3 separate regions of the Homo sapiens genome follow, and regions 1 and 2 are each linked to region 3. Evidence: promoter capture Hi-C in human tissues and cell types (Jung and others, 2019). All regions are on one chromosome and are shown on one strand. The core of a region is centred on a gene start or on the middle of the fragment in contact, and the rest is flanking DNA. Distances in the headings are between cores, read along the strand shown.

Evidence for each region. Contacts are between HindIII fragments. The study calls those that stand out against the background at their distance.
Region 1: a contact is called between a fragment that was not itself captured here and the fragment with the promoter of CSRP1 in region 3, in 1 of the 25 tissues and cell types used here (neural progenitor cells).
Region 2: a fragment that was not itself captured here is called in contact with the fragment with the promoter of CSRP1 in region 3 in 4 of the 25 tissues and cell types used here (bladder, heart left ventricle, hippocampus and 1 more).

The regions. Positions count from the first base shown.
Region 1 is chr1:201,914,803-201,918,315 of GRCh38, reverse strand. The region is part of intron 1 of LMOD1 (leiomodin 1); the gene reads left to right. Among named protein-coding and RNA genes, the nearest start is that of SHISA4, 28 kb to the right of the region's middle. The HindIII fragment of the contact is 6,571 bases long and covers 1-3,513 here.
Region 2 is chr1:201,762,057-201,765,554 of GRCh38, reverse strand. All of the region lies in intron 7 of NAV1 (neuron navigator 1), which reads right to left. The region is part of intron 2 of IPO9-AS1 (IPO9 antisense RNA 1); the gene reads left to right. It overlaps LOC124904483 (a long non-coding RNA gene), which reads left to right. Exons shown (of 2, transcript XR_007066790.1): 1 at 1-3,498. Among named protein-coding and RNA genes, the nearest start is that of MIR5191, 44 kb to the right of the region's middle. The HindIII fragment of the contact is 4,715 bases long and covers 1-3,498 here.
Region 3 is chr1:201,505,388-201,509,351 of GRCh38, reverse strand. It overlaps CSRP1 (cysteine and glycine rich protein 1), which reads left to right and starts at 2,229. Exons shown (of 6, transcript NM_004078.3): 1 at 2,229-2,282. It overlaps CSRP1-AS1 (CSRP1 antisense RNA 1), which reads right to left and starts at 2,139. Exons shown (of 2, transcript NR_160747.1): 1 at 1,933-2,139. RefSeq lists a silencer at 1,898-2,527. The HindIII fragment of the contact is 18,281 bases long and covers 1-3,964 here.

The DNA.
Region 1 (3,513 bases), core at 418-2,917, 410 kb before region 3:
GGCAAGAGATGATGGAGGCCGCAAACACAGCAATGGTGAGGGGATGTGAGGAAGCTAATCTCAGCTATGTTAGGAAGGTGGGATGAAGGGAACGTGGTGAGGGAAAAAGGAAGCGTCAAGGCTGATGTCCCAGTGTCTGTGGGGTGGGAGAGCCATTCCTGAAGAGGGAGAAGGCGGGAAGACAGAGAGCTGCACCATCCCTGATCCCTGGCCTCTTAGGCCTAGGACTGGCTACAGAATTTGCAGGGCTTAGCGCAAAATGAAAATGTGCTCAAGAATTACTAAAACTTTCAAGACGATGACAGCAGAGAATTAAACCAAGCGTAGGGCCCTCTGAGCATGGGGCCCTGGAGCACTGCAGAGGTCAGACACCATAAAGCTGCTCCTGCTTTAGCCAATGTACCCTTTTCTGTTTAGAAGGAACAGGAGAGGGGCTGTATGAAAGCCAGGCCTCCTGCTCACAGCCCCAGGCAGTAAAAGAACAGTATGTTCCTTCTGCCACCCTCCGGGACCTAAGTGGGACCCAGAAGCCTGGGACAAATAGCTTGCATTTGTGTAGATCTTTACAACATTTCCCAGACTTGCTTGGGTTTTCCTTGGTGCTGGGATAAAATGAAGAAGCAGAAAGTACTAGCCAGGCACTTCAGAGAGCAGAGTGCTACAGTGACTTGTTTATCTCCCCAAAGAGATTTCCCGGTTTCTCCAAAAATGGGGTTTGCTACAAGCTTCCCAGTATGAGTCACCAGACCAGTTGGCAAAGCATTTAGTTCTGCTGAGAGCAATGGAGTTGACCCTTCATTGGCCGAGAAGATCTGCCACAAGAACCTTCATCCCCCTAGTGATGGGTTCTGCATAACCCCCAGGCAGAAGCCAGAATGGCGCTGACTGTGAAGTCTTAGCTATTGCAGGCTGTGTTGCATGCCCTCACCTCAAAACGCCTCTGTCTTTCTCTACTTGCAGTGAATGCAGAAGCCTTGGTGGTAGGGGTAAGGGCCTAGGTGAAACACAGACACCGCTCACCGTGCCTTCCTTTCTGGTGCCTCTTGATGGCTCTTGGCAGGCTTTTGAGGTCAGGCCACCTTCCCCCATTTACCATCCCTTTCACTAGAAACCCTGGTCCTTAAAGACTCAAGGCAGGCAAGAACCCTCCCAGCCTTGGCAGAGTTTGGTGACACATGCAGTGTAAGTGCCCAGCCACCCACATCTGCACATTATCCTTGTCTTTTCCAGAAGGTTTCTTTGCTCCCCTTCCCTACAAAGACAGAGCAGGCCCTGAGATGGTGGCGTTCACTCCTCTTGTAAAGCCTGGTCTCCCGCAGGACTGCATCAGAAAATGCCCTTTTTTTCCCAGGTTCACAAACCGCTGCCCTTTTCTTGGCTGCCATTGCGCCACTCCGACCCCTGGAGATCATCTTGGGAGGTAAAAATGAATCATGGCGTTTCTGTTTATGCTGGAGCTGGAGGCAGTGCCTGAGACCCTTTGGCCCTCTGCTCAGCACTGATGTTTATCACCGGGGCTGATGTGTAATTGCTGGAACAGAGCCAGGCGAAGGTCAGGCTGCGAGGCAGGTCCTGGGCACAGCACAGCCGGGCTGAAGACTGAGCACAGTGACGGGGAATCCCCTCCCTCCCACCTCTGGCCCCATCCATCCCTCCTCCCCACACCACGGCCTGATGCCTCTTGGTTTTTAATTTTGTTTTGTTTTTGCTGTGAAACTCAGTTATTTAAAGACAATTTTGTTTCTTTTTCATAAAACAGCTTTTGTTGGTTTTTGTTTTGTTTTGTTTTGTTTTGTTTTTTGAGACAGGGTCTCTCTCTGTTGCTCAGGCTGGAGTGCAGTGGCATGATCACGGCTCACTGCAACCTCGACCTCCCTTGGCTCAGGTGATCCTCTCACCTCAGCCTCCCAGGTAGCTAGGGCTACAAGCACATGCCACCACGCCTGGCTAATGTTTGTATTTTTTGTAGAGATGGAGTTTCACCATGTTGCCCAGGACGGTCTTGAACTCCTGGGCTCCAGCTTCCCCTCACCCTGACCTTCCAAAGTCCTGGAATAGATGTGCCTTTGTTGTATTTTTCTGATCATAAAAGTAGTTCAAGCCAGGTGTGGTGGCTCACACCGTAATCTCAGCACTCCGAGAGGCCAAGGTGTGTGGATCGCTTGAGCCCAGAAGTTTAAGACCAGCCTGGGCAACATGGCGAAACCCCGTCTCTACAAAAAATACAAAAATCCGCTGGGTGTGGTGGTGCATGCCTGTAGTAGCAGCTACCTAGGAGGCTGAGGTGGGAGGATCACAAGCTGGAGGAAGTCAAGGCTGCAGTGAGCCGTGTCACACCACTGCACTGCAGCCCAGAGGAGAGAATGAGACCTTGTATCAAAAAAAAAAAGTTCAGACATTAGACACTGAAAGGCTTCGGATGGGTCTGGCCTTCAGCAAGGTCCCTGGGGCTGCCGTGCAAGGATCGCCCTGGAGGAGGTCAGCGAAACCGAGAGGAGGTTGTTGCTATAACCCCATGAGAGGTGATAGTGGCCTGGACCAAGGGAACATCTGTGAGGATGGAGGAGAGGGATTGATCTGAGTGGGGTTCAGGCTGTAGTATCTGTGTGCAGGTAACGAGGGAGTATATAATAGGTCGATTTCCCAGCCTTCCCCCAAAATCACTTGGGCTACTGGTAGGGAAGGGTGAGTGAGTGCAGAGCGGGGTGCAGAGGGGTCCACGTTGCCTCCCCACAGATCCCTCCTTTCCTCTTCCCAGCCGGGTTCTGATTGGAGTCACTGGGTGTTTAGAGGAGCCACTTGCCCAGATAGGGAATAGTGCAGGGGTCGGCAAGGCAGTGGGGGAAGATAAGGAGTCCAGTTTTTGAGGTACTTTGGGGCACACAAACCAAGATATTCATTAGACGGTACTACCTTCCTAGTAGTGTCTGGCCCAGAGATCCAGCTTTGAGAGACATCAGTACGTAGAATGCAGCTGATGCCATCAGAATGGATGAGATAATCCGGTGAGAGGCTCTAAAGGTGAAAACAAAGGAGGCCTAAAATAAGACCTTGCCAACACCCACATGTCTCAAGGAAGAGGGTCCTTGAAGGAGGCCTAAAGGAGCTATCAGAGAGCTAGGAGGAAAGCCATGAAGGCTGCGGTGGAAACCGATGGGGAAGCGTTTTGAAGGAAGGACCTGGCCAATAGCGCCAGATGCTTCCCACGCAGTTTGAGCAATATATGAAATAAAAGATAAATCCGACTTAGTGACAGGAGGGTCAGAAGTGATCTGGATGAAACTAATTTCCATGGAATGTTGGGGGTGAGGCAAGAGTGTGTTGGATTGAGGAATGAATACGGATCAAAAAGTAGAGCTCTTTGAGGAAGTTTGGGTATACGGGAAGGCTGGCGCTACAGCTGGAAGGGACTGTGGACAGAAGGAGGATCTGATTAACCGGGAGAGATGGGCAGGTTTAAAGGGTGGTGGGAAGGGGCCAGGAAAGAGGGAGAGGCTAAGGCTGTGGAAGAGG
Region 2 (3,498 bases), core at 751-3,250, 260 kb before region 3:
GGTGTGGTGGCACGCGCCTGTCGTCCCAGCTACTCAGGAGGCTGAGGCACAAGAATTGCTTGAGATTGGGAGGCAGAGGTTGCAGTAAGCTGAGATGGCACCACTACATTCCAGCCTGGGTGAAAGAGCAAGAGTCTGTCTCAAAAAAAAGAAAAAAAAAAAAAAAAAAAAAAGAATATTTCCTGAAGATCAAACCCATCCAAGAAAATTATACTCCAATGCTCTACTGTACCTTGATCATTCTGTTCGATGCTGAAATAATAGATTTCCACCATTGCCTTTTTCTTTTAAGTCACTCAGTTATAGTGACTGACAGAGTTCTGTATGGCACTTAGAAAGGAGTTAAAGCAAATAAACACAGGGACATGGCACCTCCAAGAATATAAAAGGCCACCCTAATGTGCCCATAGAGAAAGGACTTCTGTTATTTCTGATGATTCTTAATATAATGGAAAAGTGTGAAAACTTGTCTGCTTGGTTCTAAATCTAGTTCACCTCAAGGCTTCCTTGCTGAAGTTCTAGCCACCTTCAGCATACCCACTTTAGCTCACTCTCCTTTCTGATAAAGGTTCAAGTGTTTTTAATGGTGGCAATAGGGCCATAGGTCCAGACCTAGGCAGAACCCCACTCAGTCAGAATAAAGCCATGCATTTCTGTGCTTGTTCTTCACAGACGCCATCTTGCCAGTGGCAAAAGAAAAGTAACTGGTCTGGAGAACCGAATGCCCTTGCAGTTATACATAAAATTCTATGCATGTGCAATCTTCTGGTATCTGATCATACTTTCAGATTCTCAAATGTGTCTATGACTCAGAAAATTTTCTTTAAATTATCATCTTGCCTCCTAACACCCTGCTTTAGGCATTGCTTTCTTGATTCTGGCATTGAATTTTTGCCCTAAGGTTAAGAGAGTTTCTTAAATTTAGACCATTGTTATGGAATAAATTATGTTCCCCCCAAGTGTATGTGTTACAGCTGTAACTCCCAGTGACTGTATTTGGAGATGGGGCGTTCAGGGAGGTAATTAAGATTAAATGATCTTATAAGAGTGGAGCTCTCATCTGATAGGACTCGTGTCCTTATAAGAAAAAGGAGACACCAGAGAGCTCTCTTTCTGTGTGTGCACAGTTAAGGCCATGTGAGGACACAGTGAGAAGGTGGCTGTCTACAGCCAGGAAGAGAGGCCTCATCAGAAACCAACCCAGATGGCACCTTGATTTTGCACTGCTGGGCTTCGGAACTGTGAGAAAATAAACTTCTATTGTTTAAGCCACCTGCCCTGTGGTATTTTGTTATGTCAGCTTGAGCAGACTACCACAACCATTAAGTTACGAAAATAAGCTTATTTTATCTACATGTCAATATCCCCCATTGAACTACATTGGATATTGACCACCTCTATGATTCAGGCTAGTTTTCAATTCAGATTTACTGCCATCAGATTTTTTTAAATCATGATATCATAGGTTATTATAGGAAAATTAAATACCCGAATCCATCTGCTAGGCACAGTAGAAGCTATGGATTGAGAAAATCAAGGAGTCAGGCAAAGTGGAAGGAATTATCATTGCTGCTTGGACTTGGCAGCGAAATAATCCCGGAGAAATTCCATCTTTCTGTGATGAAATCAGGCTCTATATGTGCTCCTGTAATGACATGATACACAAGTATTCAGCCCTGCAAACAGCTTGGATAGCACTTTGTGGAACAAAATGGATGCAATTGGATTAGAGGTATCAATATATTTTATTGGGATCTTAATGTGGGAAAGGGTAATTGCAGGGTAGTAGAGGAGAGACAGAGAAGTGAGAATATAGAAGGAAAGACATGAGAGACTGTTTCCAAGCCGTCGGTTAAAGCTTTGCCATGTCAGCTGGCAGGGCCAGAGCAAGAAGAAAGAGCAGAAAGTTGAGCTGTTTAACGGGAGTCTCCTTAATTAGGACCAACTGTGGGTGAGGAATGCTGACTCGGCTGGCCACAATTTGTTTGAGTTTTCTCTAGTTTCAGAGATTTCCCTTTTTGTCTGCCCCAAGTCTTTCCCCTCCTGTACTTCTTTCACAGGAGTGGGAATGAAAAAACAAGGCACCTTCCTCTCTTTTTCAGATGTTTCCAAGTCAGGAAATTGAAATCCTTCAAAGAGTGAAAGATAACTGAGAATCTCAAGAAAAGCAAAAAATTCTCAGGGATACCATCAAATTCACCTTCAAAAGATAAAAGGCAGTCCTCTAGAGCAAGCTCTGGAGTACTGAGTATGTACTTCTATCTCTACTAGTCGCTATTACTACAGTTGAGTTAGTGTACTTGTCTTAGCCTCAATTTCCCCAAGTATAAACAGGTAATTGAACACCCACTAATCAAAATCTTTAGAAAGTTTGAACATCAAGGAAAATGATTTTGATTCTTAACTTGGTCAAGAAAACATCTTGAGGAAAACTAAAAAGTCACAAAATTAAGGTGTCAATTGATGTGAGTGACCTTATTTTGAGTTTCCATATTTTTATTGGAGAGGGCCTGAAGGAGGCTCTAAGAATAGTCAGTAGGATTCTGTTCAGAACCAACATTTTTTTTTTCTCTTTCTAAAACCCACATAGATGTCCCATTTTAAGGATTTTTGGAAAGGGATGAAAATGATATTTGATTTTAAATTTCATGAGATAATTCCTACTTCCTCACCACTGTCTCACCCATATTCTTCCTGCAGTGTTTCCTTAGGAGTCCACTGCACAATTCCAAAATCCCTAGCTAATTGAAAAGAAATGTAGAATAGTGTCTGCATTTCTGCACCTTCTCTAAACCAATAAGGAAGTAAGAGATAATTGACAATACTCCGAAAAGTAGGAAAAGTTTGGCTTAAGGGTCCAGAGTAGGGGTTGGCCAGATAGTAAATATTTATGAGGCTTTGCAGGCCATAAAGTCTCTGTCACAACTACTCAATTCTGCCATTGTAGCACAAAAGCAGCCATAGATAGTATGTAAACAAATGAATCCGGCTATGTTCCAATAGAACTTTATTTATGTCCACTGAAATTTGAATTTCACATAATTTTCATGTGTCACAAAATATTGTTCTTCTTTTGTTCCTTCCAATCATTTAAAAATGTGAAATCCACTCTCAGCTTGCAGGCCATACAAAAACAGGCAGTGGACTGGATTTGGCCAAGCAGGCCAAAGGTCACCAGCCCTGGGGCTAGACCAAAAAAAGAACCCCTAAAAATGAAAAGAAATAACAATTCCGTAACTGACAAGTCCTGGGCAAAAAAGCAACTCTGGGCTAAGAATGACCTCTTGGATTTCCACTTTTATTACTTCTGATCTAACCTGCTCAATTTTCAAGTCAAAACAAGATTTTTCTACTACTGATTCAGTTTTTTGGGTTTTTTGTTTGTTTGTTTTCTTTGAGACAGGGTCTCACTCTGTCACCTAACTGGAATGCAGTGGTGCAAACACAGCTCATTGCAGCCTCAAGCTCCAGAGCTCAAGGGATCCTCGCACCTCAGCT
Region 3 (3,964 bases), core at 980-3,479:
TATCTAAGACCAAGCCCAAGTAACTGGCAGCAGGCTGGGAGAATAATATAGTCAGAAGGTGAGAGGTTCTGGAAAAACACCAAACAAGGCAGGTCCTACTTGGCTTCATCTGTAGCTCTGCGTAGACAGCTCCTAAGACAAGTGACCTGACAGTCTTTGGGTGGAAAAGAGGGGTGACCATCTGCCCTGGACTGCCTGAGATAGTCCTGTTGCCTTAGTGTAGTTACGAATACTACCACATACCACTTACTATCCAAAGCATTCTGGTTTAGATGACACATTGTACAGCCATTCTGTTTATAAGGTGCTTTAAGATCTGGGAGAAATCCAAGTGTGACTGCAGTGACTGCTCTTCTTTTTCTGGATCTACCCTAAAGCCATTTCACAGCACAGGTTGGCATGTCCTCACAGGGAAATCTATCAACAGTCCCATGACTCCAGAGAGGACAAACCCAGACCAAAGAAGGTAATGTAGGAGTTTGCCCTTTTGTAAAATCCTGGGCAAAACTCCGAGGCTCATCTCTCCAAGATACTGAGAATTGAAAGGAGAGGGGGAAATCCCATGGGATCGCCATCTTTGGGCGGAAGCCCTTGGTCTCTGACACTGATGGTGGTTCTGCAGTTTAATGGACCTGTTTAACTATTGCTTAGTCAGTGCAGCCGTGACCAGAAATTCTTCTGGTTTCTCCTCCTTCATCTTGGTTGGGTCAGATGAAGATGGCCCAATCTGCAAGAAACACTGGTTGTGTGCTTCTAGACATTTTAATCTTGGAGGGCCTTGTTTATAGGATGGACCTGGCCAAAGGAAAGATGTTACTTATGGTAGAAAGCAAGAAAAACCTAGATAAACACTTTTTTTTTTGAGAAACACTCTTGCTCTGTCGCCCAGGCTGGAGTGCAGTGGTGCAATCTTGGCTCACTGCAACCTCTGCCTCCTGAGTTCAAGTGATCCTTCCACCTCAGCCTCTCGAGTAGCTTGGATTACAGGCACACACCACCACGCCTGGCTAATTTTTTTAATTTTTTTGTAGAAACAGGGTTTCACCAGGTCTCGAACTCCTGGGTTTAAGCAATCTGCCTGCCTCGGCCTCCCAAAGTGTTGGGATTACAGGCGTGAGCCACAGTGCCTGGCCAAATACTTCATTTTCTAGATCATAAGATGCTTAACTTTATTCCTGGCAAAAAGTTGATTCAGCAAACCAGGGCTTTAAGTGAAGCCGGTTGGGGCCTGAACCCTTGACACCTGCCCAGGGTGGAAGACATAGCAGCTGCATCTATGGGCCACCTGGGGTGTAGGGTGACCAGCTGGAGGCTGTGAGCTTCTCTGCTCCCTGAAATGCCTGCACGGGGCACTCAGGAAGGGCTGGGGACTGGGTGAGGAGGTGTGGACAGAATGTCCCCTGGAAACTGCCCCAGGGGCAGCTTGAGTGGCCTGAGCCTGTGTCTGTCCTACTGAAGGTTGGAGCCCCAGAGAAAAGCCTCTATGGAGGCACCCACTTTTCAGAACTGCTGCTTTTGCGGGAGAACACCTTTTTCCAGGTGTTGTCCTTAGGGTAGCAGGGAAGACTGGGAAAAACTGAGGGGCAAGAGCTGTTGGAGGGGGGAGTTACATTTATTGAGTGTCTATTACATGCCGGGTGCTGCTGAAGGTCTGCGGGTCCTACCGGATCTCCTTTTAGCCCCTCACATCCCTGTAGATTACACGCCGTTCACAGATGACCCTGAACCCAGAAGGGCTGTCTAGGCCCAGGGCCCAGCTAGTGAGTGGATGGGCAGAATCAGACCTGCCCTGGAAGGGTCTGTCTTACCCTGGCGCCCAAAATGTGTCCCTCACCCTCTGCCACCAGGACAAGTAAATTCGAGACACCCTTTCGTTAGGGGCTCAAGTTTATCATGGGTCTGACCTCTAAGGTCATATCTCCGCCTTCTCACCTGACAGACAGGAAACTCCTGAAATGCCCCTCGCACGTGCAAGACGTTTTCCGCGGTGGCGGCGACAGGGCGCACAGTGGGACCGCAGCACGAGCTCGGAGCACCCCCAGAGTCGGCGACTCCTGCCCCCGCCCCTGCCGGCCGGCCTTCCCGGGGCCTAGGAGGGCAGCACCGCCGGGCTTCGCGCCATGACATCAGCCCTGGAGTGGTGCAGTGTGCAAAGCCCACTGGTTGGCGTGGCCCGGGACACGCCTTCCGCGGAGCGGAACAAAACGGCGCGCAGGCCGGGCGCACCCAGCCGCCACTTCCGAGAGCGCCTGCCGCCCCTGCGCCGCCGAGCCAGCTGCCAGGTGAGTGCGCCCTGAGTCGCGCGGCTCTGCCCGCCGCGGAGGGGCGCCTGGGCACGCACTCAGCGCCTCCCGGTCTTGCCAGCCCCGCCGCAGCCCCGGGGCTGTCGCAGGCGGGGAACTGTGAGAAGTGACCGCAGTTAGCCCGGGCAGTGCTGCTCTTTTCTGGAGGCACTAGGTCCGTCCCCATCCCGGGCCTTCCTGGGCTTCCTGGACACAGTTGACTTCCGCGTGTGCGTGACCCAGGGCGACCCGGCTCCCCGCAACCGCCTGCAAGTCGGGCAGAACAATCGGCGATTCTGCGCGCCACTGACGCTCATTGTATGGCAGAGAGATGAGGGCATCCGTGCCACCCCCTCCCTCACCCTCCTGCTGGGGAGAAAATGCCCGCGGGCGGGGTGGGGCAAACATCTGGGCCTGACCTTGGACATCTGTGTCCCTGAGCGCAGGTGTGAGTTTTCCCTCTTGTGAAATAACTGCATGGAAACCTCTCCACTCCAAATCTTGGTGCTAGGTGGTGATGGTTACTGAAACCTGAAAGAGCCTGCAGTCAGTGTTTTGTGGCCTCAGTCCTTGAAAGCTGGGAAGTGATAAAGGGGCTGGTATTGAGCACATTTAAAGCAAATCACAATGTGTTAGCTAACAATCAGCCCTCTGAGGCAGGTATTGTATCTACTGGTACAGACTAGAGAATATTTTGCATGCTTCTGGTTCTGGTGCTGTTGTGAACTAACCAGGACCCAGGAATCGGCTGGAGCAATAGTGGGCTCAGGCTCTGCCTAGAGCCCTGGGCTCCAGCCACCCACCAGCTGCTCCCTGAGAGTGAATGAATGGGCAGGCTCTCCCCACGCTGGGATACTATCACAGTGGCACCGAGGAAATCCACTGGGCCCTGGTAGAAAGTATATCAGTATATCATGAAGAGGTGGCTTGGAGTCTTGGTGGGATTGTTTGGAAGGCAGAGTTTTGACTCTTGGATTTGCCACTTAACGCGCAGGTTTCCTTGGACAAACTATTTAACTTCTCAATGTCTCAGTTTCTTTCAGGGATGCTACTTGGGGAGCATATTACACAGAACCTCCAACACAGGAGTGATCTCTCAGTTACTGTCTTTCTTGTCCTCCCCTCATCCCTTGCCTTCCTCCCAGAAGCTAAGGAGGCTGGAGGTGCTGGTTGTCTCCCTCTGTCCTCTCAGACTGCATGTTGGGGATTTTCCCCAGGTGGGATTTGGGGATGGGTACTGAGCCTCCCCTCAACTGCTCTCACTCAACTGCTGCCTCCTGACTCTCCAGCTGGTTTCTGGCTACCTCTTTTGAGAGAGACTGTCCTCAGCCCTCAGCTGCTGGAGGGCAGCTTTTACCCATTGTTTCCTAAATCCAGCCTCCTCCTGCTCACGGTCTTCCAGTGAATGACTCTTTGCCTTGGAGAGGATATCCGGGGCGGAGGCAGTCAGACGAGGAAGGAAGTTTATCCTGCAGAGGGTGTAGTGTGGGTTAGAGGAGAGGGAGGAGAGAACTGTCTGCAAGGCCTGAGATGCCCAGGATGGAGGGTATGGGGAAGAAGAAGCAGGAGAGAAACTAAAGAGAAGGCCCATCAACTCTGCAATTGGCCTGCTAATAAAATGGGAAAAACAGGGGTGCTGTGGCCTATTTGCCTGTGGTCTGTCTTAGCACCTGCCTTCCTGG